Regions from separate parts of the Homo sapiens genome. Here all the other regions are linked to region 3. Evidence: promoter capture Hi-C in human tissues and cell types (Jung and others, 2019). All regions are on one chromosome and are shown on one strand. The core of a region is centred on a gene start or on the middle of the fragment in contact, and the rest is flanking DNA. Distances in the headings are between cores, read along the strand shown.

Evidence for each region. Contacts are between HindIII fragments. The study calls those that stand out against the background at their distance.
Region 1: a contact is called between a fragment that was not itself captured here and the fragment with the promoter of CCM2L in region 3, in 2 of the 25 tissues and cell types used here (lymphoblastoid cells and mesenchymal stem cells).
Region 2: a contact is called between a fragment that was not itself captured here and the fragment with the promoter of CCM2L in region 3, in 2 of the 25 tissues and cell types used here (IMR-90 fibroblasts and spleen).

The regions. Positions count from the first base shown.
Region 1 is chr20:32,132,121-32,134,820 of GRCh38, forward strand. TM9SF4 (transmembrane 9 superfamily member 4) reads left to right here. Exons shown (of 18, transcript NM_014742.4): 2 at 893-1,006. Among named protein-coding and RNA genes, the nearest start is that of TM9SF4, 24 kb to the left of the region's middle. RefSeq lists an enhancer at 1,162-1,321. The HindIII fragment of the contact is 7,462 bases long and covers 1-2,700 here.
Region 2 is chr20:31,920,135-31,922,834 of GRCh38, forward strand. All of the region lies in intron 7 of TTLL9 (tubulin tyrosine ligase like 9), which reads left to right. Among named protein-coding and RNA genes, the nearest start is that of PDRG1, 31 kb to the right of the region's middle. The HindIII fragment of the contact is 3,940 bases long and covers 1-2,700 here.
Region 3 is chr20:32,009,055-32,011,765 of GRCh38, forward strand. CCM2L (CCM2 like scaffold protein) reads left to right here and starts at 1,384. Exons shown (of 10, transcript NM_001365692.1): 1 at 1,384-1,430. The coding sequence starts at 1,401. RefSeq lists enhancers at 1,206-1,733, 2,644-2,711. The HindIII fragment of the contact is 15,048 bases long and covers 1-2,711 here.

The DNA of each region.
Region 1 (2,700 bases), core at 116-2,615, 120 kb after region 3:
CCATTGGGCGTGGTAGCTCACACTTGTAATCTCGGCACTTTGGGAGGCCGAGGTGGGCAGATCACCTGAGGTCAGGAGTTGAAGACCAGCCCGGGCAATGTGGTGAAACCCCGTCTGATCTAAAAATAGAAAAATTAGCCAGGTGAGGTGGTGGATGCCTGTAGTCCCAGCTACTCGGTAGGCTGAGGCAGGAGACTCACTTGAACTTGGGAGGCAGAGGTTGCAGTGACCTGAGATCATGCCATTGTACTCCAACCTGGGTAACTCCGTCTCAAAAAAAAAAAAGAAGAGAGATGTGCCGTGCAGGTGCCTGTGGGAAGGGCATTCCACCAGAAGGCACAGTAAAGACGAAGGCCCTGAGGGGTGCAGAAAGGTTTGTTGTCAGGACAACAAGGAGGCCCGTGTGGCTGAGCTGAGCGAGGAGGAGAGTGGGAGGTGAGAGAGGCCAGCACGGTTTTGGAGAAACTTGTAGGAACATCTCTTGGTAACATAGGAGCTTTTGACAGCGTGAACTAGTTGCTATACAGAGAAATGGGAATTAATTAAATGTCCTGGAGCTTTATTTCCTGCCAGCTATCCTGGGAGTTACACACTATAAATGGTTAAAAGAACATTGATCCAGAAGTGGGGAGACATGGCTCCTGTGTGATAGTCTTCCCTTTTGCCCAGATGTTAATTACTTTGTGGCTAACTCCTGGAAGTGCAGAATTGTCCTGTGGCACTCTTGGGAGCATTTGGGAGAGAACATTTATGAGGTCTTCAGGCTTCATGGGTCAGAGGGTGGCTACACTGGGTCAATTAAAGCAACATGAAGGTGGTATGACTTGATCTGCCTCAGAGGATCTTCTTCACTTCTTCTCCCCAATCCAACCCTGGCCTCTCTTCTGAGCAGGATTGGTTGCCGTGGTCTTTACTGCTTTTCTCCCTGATGTGTGAAACAAGCGCCTTCTATGTGCCTGGGGTCGCGCCTATCAACTTCCACCAGAACGATCCCGTAGAAATCAAGGTAAGTGTGTTCCTGGATTTTTGGAGCCTCTGTGCTAGGCAGTGTGTCTGGAGCACCATGGTGAGCTGTTCGTGTCCATCCTGTGGTTGCAGAGAAGAAAGAATAGTGCCAGTTACCCCGGAACTCTGCCTCTCCCTCTCCCTGTGCCTCTGGTTCTCGGTCCCCTCTCTGTTTCTGGTTCTTTCTGTGTCTCTGTCCCTGTGTATGCTTGTGTATATTTGCATCTCGGTCTCTTTCTCACTCTCACTTTTGCTTTCAAGTATTCTGTCTCTGTCATGTATGTGTCCATCTCTTTTTGTGCCTTTGTCTTACTCCACCTGCCTCTTCTTTAGCATCTCTGCCTCCCTTTCTCACCTGCTCCATCTTCTCTGTTACCAGCTTTGTCAGCATAACTCCTAGTGTCTGCTCATATTGTTCATACATTGTGAACGTCTCTTTTCCTTGGCAGTCAGACTTGTAACTTGCAGGAACAGTCATTAAAATAACTTTTACTGAGGGTTATTTACATGCCAGGCATTGTGCATGGCTTAGCTCAGGTTGCCCCCCAAGAACCCACTGGGGCCAATTCCATATGTTACACAGATTTCCTATTCATTTTACAGATGGGGAAACCGAGGCCTGGGAAGGAAAATTAACATGTTCAAGGTCACATAGTGAGGAAGACATAGGGTTAGTTCAAACCCCATCTCTATTTAGAGGAGACGTGGTCTTTCTCTGTTGCCTAAGCTGGAGTGCAGTGGCGTGAGCATAGCTCACTGCAGCTTTGACCTCCCAGGCTAAAGTGATCCTTCTGCCTCAGCCTCCCAAGTAGCTGGGACTACAGGTGTGCACCACCATGCCTGGCTAATTTTTTTTTTTTTTTTTTTAAGTAGAGATGAGGTCTCACTATGTTGCACAGGCTGGTCTTGAACTCTTGGGCTCAAACAGTTCTCATGCTTCAGCCTCCCAGAGTGCTGGGATTATCGGGCATGAGCCACCACACCCAGCCCAAGACCCCATCTCTTAACCACTGCAGTACCTTCTTCCCACTACCTCTGTCAAAAGCTCCCTCCAGAGCAGAGGAGTGGCCTGGAGGTACCAGAGCTGCTCTGGCTTCCAGTCCCACATAGCTAAGTATGTGAGGGTGGACGCCTTGGGTGGGAAGAGAGGGAGTGGGAGGCAACGTAAAGGTGGGACGCATCTCTCTGTAACGTGCATTCTTTTCTCATTGTCCTGAGTGAGAATGCTAAGAAACACAAAATTGTTAAAACAGACTTTTTGGCCATTTTTCCTCAAGCAATTCATGAAATGTTTAATAGAGGTCCTTAATCCCTGCAGTTTCACACCCGGAAAGCTCTGGAACTCAGTTTTTCCAAGCTCACTGAAGGCAAGAACTGACCAGAACTGAACATGAAGCTGTTTATTGACTTTTTCTATTCCACTTAATATGAATATCTTTGCATTTCTCTGCACAAATAGTTATCGAATATGAGGTACTGTCCAGACCCAGCTTGGCTATGGTTTGTATACCACATTGCCTTCTAAAATCTGGAAATTTTCTTTTTCTTTTCTTTTTTTTTTTTGTGAGATGGAATCTTGCTCTGTCACCCAGGCTGGAGTGCAGTGGCATGATCTCTGCTTACTGCAACCTCTGCCTCCCAGGTTCAAGCAATTCTCCTGCCTCAGCCTCCTGAGTAGCTGGGATTATAGGTGCA
Region 2 (2,700 bases), core at 29-2,528, 89 kb before region 3:
CCCTTGAGCAAGTTACTTCACCTGTCAGTGCCCCAGTAAATGGGGATGGTAATTATACCTGCTAAGGATGCAGTGAGCTAATAAGCAAACACGCGCACACACACACACACACACACATTCTCACACACACCCACACACCCAGCACAGTGCCTGGCACTCAGCGCTCGATGCACGTTCTTTATCTGGGCCTCCTGCTCACGTGGCTGGGGAGAGTTTGGCTGACTCTTCCTCAGGGCCTAGACTGAGCCTCGGGGGCAGCTACCTCCCAACCCCAATCCATTCTTGTCCCAAGACACAGTACAGTAGAAATCCTGGTTCAAATCCTGCCTCTCCCACTCAGCAGCTGTGTGGTCTTGGGAAAATGACCGAAGCCCTCTGAACCTGAGCGGTGACGATGGTGCAGGGTGGGTGGGAGGAGCAGGATGGCTGAAATCCTATAGGACCAGCCCCTGCTGTACCAGGAGGCGCACAGCAGTGCTCAATGTCTTGACTCCTCCCATGAAACTGTCAGGGCACTACAGGAAAGAGCTCAGCAGCCTGGAGGCCCAGCCTGCCTGGAGCACGGTCAGTCCCTCTGGCAGCCACGTGAGTGGAGGTAGGGCTGGGCCCAGGTCCCAGGAAGGGAAGACCTGGCTGCTTCTGTCTTGACACAGCTGAGTGGGGAACAATGGTGGGTGAAGCAGGTCTACCCTGAGAGCTAGTGCTGCCTGCCATTATTGGGGCTGTTGTGTCACCCCATCAAGTGTGTGACCCTTGTCTTTGAGTGAAGGGGACAATAGGTGGGAGAGGTGTTTGCAACCTGCGAGGTGCTGTGCAGATGCATGAGAGCATTGCTGTCTTCCAGAGCTGGGCTGGCAGGTAGAGAAGAAGGAGCAATGTCCTCGGGGGCCCATGGGTGGTGTAGGCAGCACTGTCCAACAGAACTTTCTAGAGGGATGAAAATGGATATCTGTGCTCTCCAATGCGGTGACCACTAGCCACATGCAGGATGTTGAGCACTTGCCACATGGCTGGTGTGACTGAGGACTGGATTTATAATTTCATATCCTTCTTAAAAATTGTGGGCCGGCAACAGACACATGAAAAAATGCTCATCATCAGTGGCCATCAGAGAAATGCAAATCAAAACCACAATGAGATACCATCTCACACCAGTTAGAATGGCGATCATTAAAAAGTCAGGAAACAACAGGTGCTGGAGAGGATGTGGAGAAATAGGAACACTTTTACACTGTTGGTGGGACTGTAAACTAGTTCAACCAGTGTGGAAGACAGTGTGGTGATTCCTCAGGGATCTAGAACTAGAAATACCATTTGACCCAGCCATCCCATTACTGGGTATATACCCAAAGGATTATAAATCATACTGCTATAAAGACACATGCACACGTATGTTTATTGTGGCACTATTCACAATAGCAAAGACTTGGAACCAAGACAAATGTCCAACAATAATAGACTGGATTAAGAAAATGTGGCACATATACACCATGAAATACTATGCTGCCATAAAAAAGGATGAGTTCATGTCTTTTGTAGGGACATGGATGAAGCTGGAAACCGTCATTCTCAGCAAACTATTGCAAGGACAGAAAACCAAATACCGCATGTTCTCACTCATAGGTGGGAATTGAACAATGAGAACACTTGGACACAGGAAGGGGAACATCACACACCGGGGCTTATTTTGGGGTGGAAGGAGGGGGGAGGGATAGCATTAGGAGATACACCTAATGTAAATGACGAGTTAATGGGTGCAGCACACCAACATGGCACATGTATACATATGTAACAAAACTGCACGTTGTGCACATGTACCCTAGAACTTAAAGTATAATAAAAAAAAATTGTGGGTCGGGCGTGGTGGCTCACACCTGTAATCCCAGCACTTTGGGAGGCTGAGGTGGGCAGATCATTTGAGGTCAGGAGTTCGAGACCAGCCTGGCCAACATGGTGAAACCCCATCTCTACTAAAAATACAAAAATTAACCATGGTGGCTGTCACCTGTAATCCCAGCTACTTAGGAGGCTGAGGCACAAGAGTTGCTTGAACCCGAGAGGTGGAGGTTGCAGTGAGCCAAGATGATGCCACTGCACTCCAGCCTGGACAACAGAGCAAGACTCATTCTCAAAAAAAAAAAAAAATTGTGGTAAAATCTGTAACATGAAATTTACCATTGTAACTTCTTTTAAGTGTGTGGCTTTATCACACTAAGTGCATTCACATTGTTGTGCAACCACCACCACCACCATCCGTCTCCAGAACGTTTCATCTTCCCAAACTGAAACTCTGTAACTGTTAAACACAAGCTCCCCGTTCCCTCCTCTCCCCAGCCCCTGGCAACCCCCATCTACCTTCTATCTCTATGAACTTGACTACTCCAGGGACTCATCTAAGTGGAATCAGACAATATTTGTCCTTTTGTATCTGGCTTATTTCACTTAGCCTTATGTCTTCGAATTTCATCCATGTTGTAGCATGTAATTTCATTTACTTTTCATCAAGGTAAATGTAAATGGCGTCTTGCGGCCAGTGACTGCCCTACTGGGCAGCACCAGTCTAGAGTTTAAACACTCAGGCTCTGGGCCTAGACCATGTAGGTTCACATCCCAGCAACACCACTAACTGGCTGTGTGACCTTGGACAAGTTACTCTCCCTCTCTGTGCTTCAGTTTCTAATCTGTGAAATGGAAATAACA
Region 3 (2,711 bases), core at 134-2,633:
AAAAATACTTCCGCAAGGACATCTGCCCAGCAACTGCCTGTCCAACTTTAGACTGGCATCACCCTTGCTATTGATCTTTGCAATCAAGAATAATTATTTCAGAAACAATAATGTAATCCTTATTTTTTTCCTTTAAAAATCTTTGTCTTCCCCCCACCTCCCTGAAAATGCACATCGCTTACTATGGCATATGGGTAATTCCCACTGCAATGCTTAATTCCTAAGTGAAACATCTTTTATTTTAGAGAGCCTCTGTTTGTTCTTTAATTTGACAACCACTAAGCAGGTAAACAGTTAATGTTTACTGAGCACTTATTTTTTTTCAGTTTTTTTTTTTTTTTTTTTTTTTTTTGAGATGGAGTCTCAGCCAGTCACCAAGGCTGGAGTGTAATGGCTGGATCTCAGCTCACTGCAACCTCCACCACCCAGGTTCAAGCGCTTCTCCTGCCTCAGCCTCCAGAGTAGCTGGGATTACAGGCATGTGCCACCGCACCCGGCTGATTTTTGTATTTTTAGTAGAGACAAGGTTTCACCATGTTGGCGAGGCTGGTCTCGAACTCCTCACCTCAGGTGATCTGCCTGCCTCAGCCTCTCAAAGTGCTGGGATTACAGGTGTGAGCCACCACGCCCAGCCTTACTGAGTACTTAATATGTGCCAGAAGTTCTTCTAGGTGCATTTAATCCCCGCAAGGTCACTATGAGGTTAAACTAGTATTATGCTCATTTTAAAGACGGGAAAACTGAGGCACTGGTGGTTAAGGGACTTCCCAAAGGTCATAACCCTAGTAAGTGCCAAAGCCAGGATTCGAATTCAAGCAGCCTATCTTCAAAGCCCACGCATACTGCCTCCCTTAATAGTAATGATTAATTTTTTAAAATCATAACTTGCTTGGCTACAATACTCTCTATAAGGCACTTTCCATCCACCTTTTCATTTCTCACCACAGCAGCCTAGGGAGGGAGGCAGTGTTGACTCCCAACTTATAGAGAGGAGGGGGAAACAGGCTGTGACAGGGGGAACTGACTTGCCTTGCCAAGGTCACACAACAAGGTCAGTGGCAGAAGTAGGGCTGGAACTTGGAATTTTCCAAACCAGGACTTCAAATGTGGGGGGCCCTTTCCCAGCCTTGGCCAATTCCCAAGCTCCCCCAATAACCCGCCTTCTGGCTAGAGGCCTTGAGCCTCCCTCCTCAGGTCAGCTCTGCCTGGGCTTCCACCCTTCAGCTGCAGGGTCCCAAGGCTGTGTCCTCCACACCCCCTGCCCTCCCCATCAGATGGGAGGGGCAGGAACTCCAGGGCTGGTGGAGTTTCCGACCAGGCAGGAAAAAGAACAAAGGAACTGGATGTGGGGGTGGAAGGGATGGCCAGGAGGGTGGCAGGAGTAGAGGGGACATTTCACCATGGAATATGAAGTCAAGAAAGGGAAGAAGGTAGGTGGGAGGTTGGGAGGGACGAAGGGAGAGGAATGTCCCCAAAGCTGGGGAAGGGGGCAAACTGGGGCGGGGTGGGGGGTCGGTAGCGAGGGGCATAAGTGGAGCCTTTCTTCTCATTTGGAAGTAACTTCCTTCCCACTCTTGGACAGCCAGACAGTCAGGCTCTAAACTCCCTGTTTCTCCACTCTCAGTGGCCTCTGGCATCCCTAACGTGGACAGACAGGGACCTTCTCAGGAAACCTGGCCAGACGGACTCAGTTTGGGAGATTCTCCACACCTGCTTCCCTGGTGTTCCCCGCAGCTCCCTCCTGCAGCCTCTCAGACAGACGGACAGACAGACACCCAGCAGATCCATTCTCCTGCTCGTCACTGCCCCAAACAGAAGGACTCAGCCAGGGCAATTCCGATAGGATGTTGCCTACACAGGCTTGAGTCTCCCACCTGCCCCCTGCCCCTCCCACCTTTCTACAAGGGCGTATGTAAGGCGTCAGCCAGAAGCCATTCCCCTCACCCCTTCTGACTCTGAAGTTTTCTAGTATGCTTCTCTGGGTGTCTCACCTGGTTGTCTTTGGAGTTCAGGGAGGCGCTCTGATTTTAACTTCCATCTTACCCCCATTTCCACCCTCCCCTCTACCCCACCCCCACCAGAAACATATGTCCGGGCTGTTCTAAAAGGTGCCCACATGAATCACAGAGGGCTCAGAAGGGAGCCAAGACATACGTGCATGTTTTCTCTTAGTTTGTTCTTTTAATAGACATTTATTGAGTGCCTATTATGCACCAGGTATTTCTTTTTTTAAAGCAATAAATAAGTTAATGTAAAATTGCATAGAAGGGCCGGGTGCAGTGGCTCACACCTGTAATTCTAGCACTTTGGGAGGCCGAGGCGGGTGGATCACCTGAGGTCAGGGGTTCGAGACCAGCCAGGCCAACATGGCGAAACCCTGTCTCTACTAAAAATACAAAAATTAACTGGGCATGGTGGCACATGCCTGTAATCCCAGCTACTAAGGAGGCTGAAGCTTGAACCTAGGAGGCAGAGGTTGCAGTGAGCCAAGATCGCGCCACTGCACTCCAGCCTGGGTGACAGAGTGAGACTCTGTCTAAAATAAATAAATAAATACATAAATAAAAATTTTTTAAAAATCATAGGAGGTCCCATACTCAGTGCTGGAGGAAACTGATCAGTTTGAGTCGAGAACTGACGGGTGGAAGGAAAGTGGGTAGGGAAGAGTGTTTGAGGCAGAGGAACAGCATGTGCAAAACCCCACAGTGGGA